2 separate regions of the Homo sapiens genome follow, and region 1 is linked to region 2. Evidence: promoter capture Hi-C in 16 types of primary human blood cells and fetal thymus (Javierre and others, 2016). All regions are on one chromosome and are shown on one strand. The core of a region is centred on a gene start or on the middle of the fragment in contact, and the rest is flanking DNA. Distances in the headings are between cores, read along the strand shown. Region 1 overlaps DDX60 (DExD/H-box helicase 60). Region 2 holds the start of PALLD (palladin, cytoskeletal associated protein).

Region 1 (6,505 bases), core at 558-3,057, 200 kb before region 2:
GTCATGCTATTTAGAAAAATATTTTTATTTGTAAGTGATCTTACTAGTGGGTACTACTAGGCTTAATACATGTGTGACAAAATAATCTGTACAACAAACCCCCGTGACACAAGTTTACCTCCATAAAAAACCTACACATATACCCCTGAACTTAAAGTTAAAAAAATGAAATAATAAAATTTTTCTGAGACGAAAGGAAACCTGTGTACATAGAATAAAAGAGCTCACTGTATAACAAGAGAAACAATGAAATGAAATTAGATCCTCACACCATATGCAAAAAGCAACTCAAAATGGATTAAAGACTTACATACAAGACTTGAAAGTGTAAAACTACTAGAAGAAAACATAGGAGGAAAGCTCCACAACATTGGTCTGGGCAATGATATTTTGGATACGGCCACAAAAGCACAGGCAACAAAAGCAAAAATAGCCAAATGGGATGGCATCAAAGTAAACATCTTCTGCACAGCAAATGAAAGAGGCAGTCCACAGATTTTGCAAACGATACATTTATTTATTTATTTATTTATTTATTTATTTATTTAGAGACAGGGTCTCACTCTATCACCCAGACTGGAGTGCAGTGGCCCAATCTCAGCTCATTGCAATCTCTGCCTCCCAGGCTCAAGCGATTCTCTTGCCTCAGCCTCCCAAGTAGCTAGGATTACAGGCATGTGCCACTACTGCCAGGCTAATTTTTGTATTTTTAGTAGAGATGGGATTTCACCATGTTGGCCAGGCTGGTCTCAAACTAATCACCTCAAATGATCCACCCACCTAGGCCTCCCAAAGTGCTGGGATTACAGGTATGAGCCACCGCGCCCAGCCAAACTATACATTTAATAAGGAGTTAAGATCTAAAGTATAGAAACAACTCAAACTCAATAGTAAGAAAACAAATAATCCCATTTAAAAATAGACAAACGACCTGGACAGTCATTACTAAAAACACACAAACAAACAAAAAACCCAACGGCCAATAGGTACATGAAAGATATGCTCAGCGTTAATAATTATACCAATAATTAGGCAAATGCAAATTAAAACTACAATGAGATATCACCTCACATCTGTCAGAAGGGCTTTTATCAAAAAGATGAAAGATAACAAGTGTCAGAGAGGAAGCAGAGAAAAGAGAACTCTAATACATTGTTGGTAGGAATGTAAATCAGTACAGGCATTATGTAAAACGATATGAAGCTTCCTCAAAAAACTACAATTAGAACTATCATAGGACCCAGTAATCCCATGTCTGGGTATGTATCCAAAGGAACCGAAATTAGTATGGTTAAAGCAAACTAAATATGGCTGGAGAAGGACTTCGTACTTCTATATTTGAATCCTTCTGGATGAATTGCAATGTAACTTAATAGGTAGACAAGATTGAAAACCTAGTTTAGGAGTATGTTCTTGTAACAGTCGCTGTCTTGGCCAATCCCTTACTTCAATCACTCATACACTGCTGAGCGTTCAAACTGTGTTCAAATAAGGCAAATGCAGAGTTGTACCCAATCCAGCTATTCTGTACCTCACTTCCGATTCCTGTATGTCACTTTACATTTTTTGTCTATAAGTTTGTTCAGACCATGAGGCACCCCTGGAGTCTCTCTGAATCTGCTGTGATTCTGGAGGCTGCCTGATATGTGAATCGTTCATTGCTCAATTAAACTCCTTTAAATTTAATTCAGCTGAAGTTTTTCTTTTAACAGTATTTCGAAGGTATATCTGCACTCCCATGTTCATTGACACATTGTTCACAACAATCAAGACGTGGATCAACCTAAGTGTTTATCAACAGATGAACGGACAGTGAAAATGAGGTATATATACACAATGGAATACTATTGAGCATTTAAAACGGGGGGAAATCCTGTCATTTTCAACAACATGAATGAATCTGGAGGATATTATGCTAGGTGAAATAAGCCAAGACAAAGAGACAAATACCAAATGATCTCACTTATATGTAGAATCTAACGAAGTTGAACTCATAGAAATAGAGAAGAGAAACTCTTCTCTTCAGAGGGTGAGGGGAGAAACGGAGACTTGCTGACCCAAGGGTACAAACTTTCAGATAAAAAAGAGGAATGGGTTTTGAGATCTATTATACAGCAGGATGACTACAACCAATAATAATGTCATATATTTCAAAATAAGTGCATAAATTTCAAATGTCTCACAATAAAAAATGATAGGTAAGCAAGGTGATGGATATGTTAATTAGCTCCATGTAATCATGTCACGTTGTATACATATATCAAAACAAAACGTTGTACTTCATAAATATATAGTTATGATGTGTCAATCAAAAATATTTTTTTAATTTAAAATTTTTAAAAAGAATAGAAACTATTTAAAAGGAACTACCTAAGGGGACAATTTTCTGAAAACAGGTTTGGGAAAGAAAAGGAAGCTTTAAAAAAGGAAGAAGTATCCTTTGGCAATTAAGTGGCGAAAGAGTAAAAGAAGACAAAGAAGAATTTGAGGGCTCTGCAAGTCAGAAGAAAAGCAGGTAATTTGAAGACCCAAAACCACTCACCCACTACCAAACAAATAAATAAACAAACTAACAAAAACCCCACTAACATGCCTGGATTCTGACAAGCTGGCAGAAAAAGATAACATTAAATTAAATTATATTAAATTAATTGGATTGGATTAAATCGAATTAAAGTATCTTGTAACAAACCTCGGTATCATTAAAATGAAAAGAAAGTACATAGAGAGCTATTACAAAAAATAATAGCAGGAAAAAAAATTCACACAAATTGTGTGAAAAATCTCATCATTATCTCCAAAAGTAGTAATAATATCAGCAATTATAAAGCAGAAGAAATCTCTAAGTCTACATTCTAAATATGGATATACTCAAACAAGCATTCGAACATACAAAAAGTGATCTTTTTTTTTTTTTTTTTGAGGCGGAGTCTCACTCTGTCACCAGGCTGCAGTACAGTGGCATGATCTGGGCCCACAGGAACCTCCACCTCCTGGGTTCGGCAATCTCAGCTCACTGCAACTGCCATCTCCAGGTTCACGCGATTCTCCTGCCTCAGCCTCCCGAGTAGCTGGGACTACAGGCATGCACCACCATGCCCGGCTAATTCTTGTATTTTTAGTAGAGACGGGGTTTCACCATGATGGTGAGAATGGTCTCAATCTCTTGACCTTGTGATTCACCTACCTTGGCCTCCCAAAGTGCTGGGATTACAGGCATAAGCCACCACGCCCAGCCAAAAAATGATCTTTATTCAGCAACTGATAAACCAAAAACAGGGCTGGAAAGAAAGAAAGAAAAAGAAAGAAAGAAAGAGAGAGAGAGACGAAAGAAAGAAAGAAAGAAAGAAAGAAAGAAAGAAAGAAAGAAAGAAAGAAAGAAAGAAAGAAAGAAAGAAAGAAAGAAAGAAAGAGAAAGAAAGAAAGAAAGAAAGACAATAAATAATTAATTCCGCAAAATAATCATAGAAAAATGCAAAGCTATGCAGAAATAAAGAATAAGTTACAAGATGCCCAAAGGAGAATAATCTCAATAAAATTTAATGAAGACAGGTAGGAAAACAACCAAATGACATAAAATAAAAACCAAAAAAGGTCAGAAAAATAATAGTGGAAATGAAAGACAGAAAAATATTTGTATCATTGCACATCTTATCAAAAACAAAACTGGGCCAGGTGCGGTGGCTCATGCCTATAATCCCAGCACTTTGGGAGGCTGGGGCCAGGAGTTCGAGACCAGCCTAGAAAACATGACAAAAGCTCATTTCTAATAAAAATTAGCCAGGTGTGGTGGCACAGGCCTGTAGTTCCAGCTACTTGGGAGGCTGAGGGGGAAGAATTGCTTGAATCAGGGAGGCAAGGAGGTTGCTGTGATCGTGTCACTGCACTCTAGCTTGGGCAATAGAACAAGACTCTGTCTCAATGAAAAATAATAAATAATAAAATAATAGTAATAATGATAATTTAATAATAAAATTAATATTTTTAAAATAATAATCCTAGAAAACCCACTATACACAATAAATGAGTGCTAATGGATACTGAGAAAAATTAAAACTTCAGAAACCAAATAGTGAAAGGTAAAATAAGGAAACAGAGAATTGAGATTATTCTTTTTATAAAAATGGTACAGCATGGTAATTACAAACGTAATTACCATAACGAAACATGTAAAACAGCCCAAAGTTTAAAATTGTTTAAATAAAATAACAAAGAATACACATATCGTAAAGAAACTTAACAAACACACCAGAATACAAATGCCTATAATATATTATAGAATCAAGACCAAACGTATCAGTCATAACAGTAAATGTGAGACTTACCTATAAAAGAAAAAATAATTTCAACTTGCACCACATTCCATATATAAGACACACAACTAAAACAAAGTGATTCAGAAATACTAAAAATAAAGGAATGGACATAATTCTATCAGGTAAATGGAAACTAAAAGAGAGCAGAAGTTAGTATCTTTATATTGGGCTAAGTAGAATTCAAACTCAAAAGCATTACATGTGAAAAAGAAAAGCAGTCTTTTATTCTAAAAGCCACAATCTATAATGAAAAGATAATCCTTATGAAAAATTATCCAACATATGCATGGCAACCAACTTTGTGAAACAAAAATGACAAAAGATAAAAGAAACTCTATAGAGAAACTCACCTATAGTAACAAATTTTAAAACACAAGAGAGACAGCTGGACAAAAAAATAAGTTAAGGGATAAAAGACAAACCACCATAATCAACAGAGTAGACCTTATGAATCAAACTACATTGTGGTGATAGGGAATCTTCATTTGTCTTAAATGTCCCCAGCACATCCATAAAAATTAACTATATGTTAACATCTTCATAATACAATAAAGGTAGTGGAAAAAAAAAAGAAATTTTAAAAATCATGAACGTAGCCGGGCACGGTGGCTCATGCCTGTAATCCCAGCACGTTGGGAGGCCAAGGAGGGCAGATCATGAGGTCAAGAGATTGAAACCATCCTGGCCAACTTGGTGAAATCCCGTCTCTACTAAAAATACAAAAATTAGCTGGGCTTGGTGGCATGAGCCTGTAGTCCCAGCTACTCGGAAGGCTGAGGCAGGAGAATTGCTTGAACCCAGGAGGTGGAGGATGCAGTGAACCGAGATTGTGCCACTGCACTCTGGCCTGGCGACAGAGCGAGACTGTCTCAAAAAAAAAAAAAAAAAAAAAAAAAAATCACAAACGTGCTTTAATCTGGAACTTAAAAACATTTCTATTCGGTCAAACTTGGGTGAAAGGAAATACAAACTAAAATTACAGAATTTATTTTTTTAATGACAAAAAATTTACAGCATAATCTATGGGCTATATTTAAAGCAGTGATTCAGAGGAAAGTTTATTTCACTAAATATGTTTAACAATAAAAATAAACGAATTTTAAAAATGAGTAAGTTCCCAGCCCCCCCAAAAATCTAAAAGAAACAACAACATAAAAACCAAAAAAGTAAGATGAAAGAAAGCACAAAATAAATTAAAAAATCAACAGATCTCATTAATAAATCAAAATTCTTGGTTTTAAATAACTTAAAAACAGACAAACCACTAGCTAACCTGATCATAAAAAAAAACCAAGAGAATTCACAAATACACAAAATAAAAACTAAAAGGGAAAGTAATTAATGAAACAAGATAAATTAAATCACAAAAGCCTACTTCACAAAGTTCTATGCAAATAGACTTGAAAACTTAAGTGAAATAGATAATTTTCACAGAAGAATAAATTACTAAATTTGACCCCATTAGAGTTAACAAGCCCAAAGAAGTCAATTGCCATGGAAGAAATACAGAAAATTAAGAAACTACCTCACAAAAAAGCACCAGGACTATATGGCTTCACAGGAGATTTCTATCAAATCTTCAAAGACTAGATAATCCCAATGATCTACACATTATTTCACAATATTGAAAAAGAGGAGAAGACATTCTAATCTTTTTTATGAAGAACATACCACACTGACATCTAACCAGATAAAGGCAATTCAAAGAAACAAAATTACAGAAATATCATTCATGCATACTGATGCAAAAATTCTAAACAAAATGTTAGTAAACAGAATCCAACACCATATTAAGAAGTAATAAACTATGACTAAGTTGGATTTATTCCAGTAATATAGAGTTGCTTCAATACAGGGAAAATCATTAATACAATACTAATAAAACTGAGGAGGAAAAATTGTGTAATTATATCCATAATTTTAGTAAACATTCATGCATTCATGATAAAAACACTCAAGCAAATAGAAGCTACGGCTGGGTGCGGTGGCTCACACCTGTAATCCCAACACTTTGGGAGGTCGAGGTGGGCAGATCACGAGTTCAGTAGTTCAAGACCAGCCTGGCCAACATGGTGAAACCCTGTCTCTACTAAAAATACAGAAATTAGCCGGGCATGGTGGCGGGCACCTGTAGTTCCAGTTACTTGGGAGGCTGAGGCAGAAGAAGTGCTTGAACCTGGGAGGTGGAT
Region 2 (5,859 bases), core at 2,162-4,661:
TATCTGGGCGTGGTGGTGGGCACCTGTAATCCCAGCTACTTGGGAGGCTGAGGCAGGAGAATCACTTGAACCCAGGAGGTGGAGGTTGCAGTGAGCTGAGGTCATGCCACTGCACTCCAGCAACAAGAGCAAAACTCCACTTTAAAAAAAAAGACATTGTGGCACAATCCAGCTGCCATGAAGCTAGGAAACTCAGGCAGTGACACAGAGAAGTCAACAGGGTTCCAGCCAATAACAGGACTAACTTTCCAGGCACGTGAGTGAGCTGCCTTGGAAGCAGATTTTCCAGCCCCAGCCATGCTTCCACCTGAAAGAAGCTGGGGCAACATCTTCAGTACTATCTCATGATACCCTGATCTGGAATTACCCAGCTAAGACTAATGGATTCCTGACACATAGAAACTGTGTGAAATAACAAATATATATTGTTTTAAGACATTAATTTTTGCAGTAATTTGTTATGAAGCAGTAGATAAGTTATATCTGATTTTGGAGGTGGAGGAGGTCTGTTTGTGTGATCTGTAAGAGGAACAGAGATGAAGATTCATAGAGAAAAGCAGGTCCAAAACCAATATGCCAACATATAGAATAGACAAATGGGTGCTGAGTCACCCAGAATAATGGCAGGGTGTGGAGTGAAGAAGAGAACCAAGAGCCCAACTAGATCCAAAGTCTTAATTTTAAAAAGTGGGATGGAGGATGGTTGATGCAAATATAAGTGCTTCAAAAGAGCAGGAATTTCTATAAGAAGAAGTAATCATTTGAAAGCTGAACTGGAGCCCCATGAAGGAGCCACAGACTCCCTTTCCCAACCTTCGTGCACACAGAAATGGGCTCTGGTGGAAAATATGAAAGTGCATGAGAAATGATATTACTGTCCACACACTAATCTCATCCTTAATATCAACTGGACCTTGCTATACTAACTTAAGAGTGTTGATCAAACTTTCTAAATTTTTTTGATGCCAATTTTCTAAGGAAAAGAACTTCTTATAAGATTTTTAAAACAAGCTTGGTTTGCTGCACTATTTGCAATACACACACAAAAAGGTCACATTTCTGTGTCCTTTTGAGTAAAGTCATATCCATCTTTGAAGCCTCTCTCAGGACCACAAGCTGTTTTTTTTTCTTTTTTCTTCTTATGGCTTCATCACTTCACTGGTGTTATACCAGGATTTAGGAACCAAGCAATCCAAAGAAATGTGGGAGAGGCCTCGTCTGGCCAGTAGTCCAACATGATTGCCTCTGGAATTCACCATGAGACTCACAGTTCACCAGAAGGCAGAGGCAAAAATCAGAGTTGCCAATTAAAATTATTTCTAAAGATGGGTTCACTGCTTCCTATTCCCAAGCCTTTCTGAGACTCCATGGGGTGAATCACTTGCTTCTTTTCTGTATCTCCTCCTGCAGGCATTTAAGCTTTGTAATTTAGTTACATGCATACTTATATTTATCTCTTTCCAACAATTTTGTTCATTTCTGATATCTTCTATTGTCTTCCCTCCCAATTTCTGCCCTTTTCAGTTTTTACTATTATCTTGTGGTTTTAGGAAAAAGCAGATATAAATATGTGTTTAAGCAATGCTATGGTTTGAAGGTTTTTGTCCCCTTCAAAATTTTTGTTGATTCCTAATCCCCTATGCAACAGTATCAGGAGGTGTAACGTTTAGAAGGTGATTCAGGAGGACTCCTCATGAATGGGATTTGATGCCCTTAGGGCTTGATGGAGGAAGTTTGACCCCCTCTTGCCCTTCCACCTTCTGCCATGTGAGGACACAGTGCTCAAGGCATCACTGTGGAAGCAGAGACAGGAACTTCACCAGACAACAAACCTGCTGGCACCTTGATCTTAGACTTCCCAGCCTCCAGAACTATGAGAAATCAATTTCTGTTCTTTGTAAATTACCCAGTCTGTGGCATTTTGTTATAATGACACAAACTAAGACAATCAATCAGAGTTATATTTCCTTGTAAGTATAAATTTTATTTTTTTATTTTTATTTTTATTTTTTTTAAGAAGGAGTCTCGCTCTGTCACCCAGGCTGGAGTGCAGTGATGGGATCTCGGCTCACTGCAAGCTCCGCCTCCCGGGTTCACACCATTCTCCTGCCTCAGCCTCCCAAGTGGCTGGGACTACAGGCACCCGCCACCACGCCCAGCTAATTTTTTGTATTTTTAGTAGAGAGGGGGTTTCACTGTGTTAGCCAGGATGGTCTCAATCTCCTGACCTCATGATCCACCCACCTCGGCCTCCCAAAGTACTGCAATTACAGGCATAAGCCACCACGCCCAGCCGTAAGTATAAATTTTAAAATCACTTCTTAATTAATATAATAGATGAAATGACCCACAGAAGTATCCACTCACAGAAAGGACCATTTCTAAAGGACCAGTTTGGCCTATAAAGAAAATACAATAGCAGACCTTCACAAATTTTCTAACATCAGAAAAGAAAAAATATTTAGATATTAAACTGAATCAAATGTGATGGTCTTACCCAGACAAAGGAAGACTCAGCACCCCATTTCCAAGTTAACTGGGAGCTTTTGTGTTGCTCTTTTTGCCCCCCTTATATTTGATTCTGCTACCTGACCTTTAAACAGAAAAGCTTTCTCTTCTTGCTATCTATGTTTGTTATTTAAAAGATCAAAATATTAAACTCTTGCTATATCTATTTGTCATTTGAAAGATCAAAATATTAAATGATTGTGAAACATTTTTTGCAACTGTAAGAGGGTTGATACTTTTCCTGAATATTATTCATTCAACATTCATTTATTTCTTTGACAAATATTTAAGAGATGCTCATGATGTCCTAGGCATTGAGCTAAGAACTCAATGTTGCAATGTGGATAAGATCCAGTCCCTGTGTGTTCATACTTATTTAATACTATTATAGACAAGGCCTTTAATACATACCATAGTCATATATCAATTTTTAATTAGCAATATGAAATAAGAGAACAATGGGACTTTCCACTCAATTTGACAGGTGGCTAAATTTTCAGTTACTGAATTTACTATTTTAGGGTAATCTAGCACATGACCAAAATTTAAATGCACAGAACAGAAGATCAGAGTAAGAAGAGCTTCCATTTGGATTATCACTTTTTCTACTTGGAGTCACATACTGTACTTTAAATTGATTAAGAACATGTTAAAGGTCCAGGTGGTGATTTCCAGCTACAAGTCCAAAGTATAGAAGAATGTGTTTAAATCCTACGTTTATCAGATCCATAAATATAGTTCCTTCTATGTTAAGTGGCTTTATTTCTAAGAACCCAGCCCTCGGTCCTGGGGGTGCTTCCCAGCCCGCTGCTGGAATTCCTGATCGTGGCAGTCTGCTGAAACATGAGCTCAGTTACCAAATATAGCTGAGTGGAGTAAGAGGACAGATGAGAGTCTGAGGCCACAGTTGCCTCAAAGTGACCACGGACCAGGCAGTCTCTAATGAATAGGCAAGGCCACAACCTCCATTCTCCCAGAAAAGAAGAAATGCTCATCTGAAATTCATCACCTCTCTGGAGTCTTCAAACTGACCAAGCATTGAAAAGGTCTGTAAGGTGTATCTTAATATACTAACTAGTAGGGCAACATTTTAAGGACTTAAAAAAAAAAAAACTAAAAATACAAAAGTTTTTCTGAAGATATGATACTATTTACAAGATACCTTAATTATTCTTTTGCTTGGAGAGGAAACGTAATGAGAATGTTACGGTTTTGCCAAAAACAGATAATACGTAAGATTTGCCTGCCCACTTCATCTCTGCCTTTGCTGTCAGAGAATTACACTTTCTGTTATAAGCTTAAGCATGCTAAGATGGTGCTATCAATTCCAAAAGGATTAAATGTATTTATGGAGCCAGCTTTTGTCAAGATCGTGTATGTGTTATGTTTCACAGAAAAGGAAAACGCAGCTTTCTAGACCCTCACCCATATTTAAGCTAGATAAGTGATGATGGCTTAAAGTGATAGACCTTAGATTTCAGTAACATTATAAATTGTTAATTACACTTTCAAAAGATTCTAAAAGTAACTCACTGGACATAATTAAATGAGTTGGGATAGTAACAGCAGGTATTTTAAATTATATTCATGCATAAAATTTACATACATATTTTTAATAAGATAACGCTTACTAAGGGAAACCACAGTGCAATCTCGAGTCCAGTCAAGTTTAAACATCACAGAATAATTTTTATCATGTTGTTTTAAGTTGCACATGAAATTGTCTTGAATCCAATATAGGAGGTTGACATAAAATGATTTCAGGCTCATATTACTTATTAACATTTGCTAAAAATACTAATTGCCTTCTAGTATGAATAATGTGGTGACATATAAAGCCATTTCTTGGCAATATAAAACTATTACAAATCTATTCAATCACATATATGCAGAAATTAAATCCTCATTTCATGATAAATGTGCCTTCCAATGTTTTTTCTCACAGAAAGAACTTGAATACTCACCTCAATTATTCAGATTTTTTTTTCAGATTTTTAAAATCAAAGTCTCTTTGACAAGTTATTGCTAACAGCAGAAAAGGCCGATGAGGTTTATCTGGCCACTAACTGCCCTGTAAATACATGATTACACATTCCTAGAATATAAATTAGTCCTCTGGCATCCTAGAATCTGGTATGGATTAGGGTCTGTATCCCAGGGGTTCTGTGTCAGCTCTTCCTCTGGGTTTCTCTGTTATTGCTAGAGCTGAATATTAAAACTGGCCTTATAGCATATTTCACAATAGAATGAGGATCTGGATTGCACTGGACAAGTACAATCACTTTGACCTCCTTACCTCATTTTTTAAAAATGTAGAGGGCAATCATTATTCAGGTTTAAAAATAAATATGACAAGTTCTTTAAGAGATACCAAGTGGAATCTGCAAGGCCCAGACAAGAGCTCCACTTCTTAAACAATATGTGTGTGGAGGCTGTCAAAGGGTATTGCAATTACTGAGCTCCAGTTAGAAATTCAGGCCATCTAGAGTTAATGACTGTGTCCCGGTGAAATTACAGCAAAGAAAACAAAGATTGAACAAAGTATCTTCGACTAAAATTTCTAACTGTTAAATCATATTAGAGAATATAGAAGCAAATTTGGTAAATAGGTTTTGAATTTAAGTGAGAAGAATAAAGCCCTGAATTGGATAATGGTAATGGAAATGGATAATTCAGAAGTAAAATCTAAATATTTGCAATGGACTCAGTATGGTGAATAAAGTTGATAAGATGAACAGGACATGGGATAACTTCAAAAACTCTGTAAAGTATCTTATTTGGCTGTTTCTGCATTAAATGAGCTATTAGATTATGTCCTTGAAATTGAGATTAAATAAGCTGTTTAAAGAGATATTTAAAACTGTAGGATAAATATATCTGCCTGCATTGACAATTTAATAATTAGAAAGGAAAATAATCCATGTGTATTTATTAAGAAATAAATTATAAAATTGTAGTGCATTTTCTGCATCAAACATAAAATTTCATAAAATTTTCGTGTTTGACTTTTGCCCTAAAGGACCCTTTGTAGCAAAAAAAAAAAAAAAAAAAAAAAAAAGGAAGGAAGAAAGAAAGGGAGACGGGGAAGAAGGAAGGGAGAAGGGAGGGAGGAAGGGAGGGAGGATGGGAGGGAGGATGGGAGGGAGGATGGGAGGGAGGAAGGGAGGGAGACATGGAAGAAGGGGGAAGGGAGGCAGAAGGGAGGGAGGGGGGAGGGAGGAAGGGAGGGACTTTATTGATTTAGTCTAGGGGGGTTGCCTGTGATTCTGAAGCATGAAAATTAAGTGTTAAAGCTTTTCTAACTTTGGTTTTCATAGTTTAGGTTTTATTAAAAGATATTTCAATATCTAA

Evidence for each region. The method cuts DNA at HindIII sites, captures the fragments that hold promoters and counts their contacts. A CHiCAGO score of 5 or more calls a contact.
Region 1: a contact is called between a fragment that was not itself captured here and the fragment with the promoter of PALLD in region 2, in 1 of 17 cell types (activated CD4 T cells). The highest score is 5.1, in activated CD4 T cells.

What each region holds. Positions count from the first base shown.
Region 1 is chr4:168,293,971-168,300,475 of GRCh38, forward strand. The region is part of intron 6 of DDX60 (DExD/H-box helicase 60); the gene reads right to left. Among named protein-coding and RNA genes, the nearest start is that of DDX60, 22 kb to the right of the region's middle. The HindIII fragment of the contact is 1,213 bases long and covers 1,202-2,414 here.
Region 2 is chr4:168,493,641-168,499,499 of GRCh38, forward strand. PALLD (palladin, cytoskeletal associated protein) reads left to right here and starts at 3,412. Exons shown (of 22, transcript NM_001166108.2): 1 at 3,412-3,554. All of the region lies in intron 1 of LOC107986198 (a long non-coding RNA gene), which reads right to left. The HindIII fragment of the contact is 1,197 bases long and covers 2,607-3,803 here.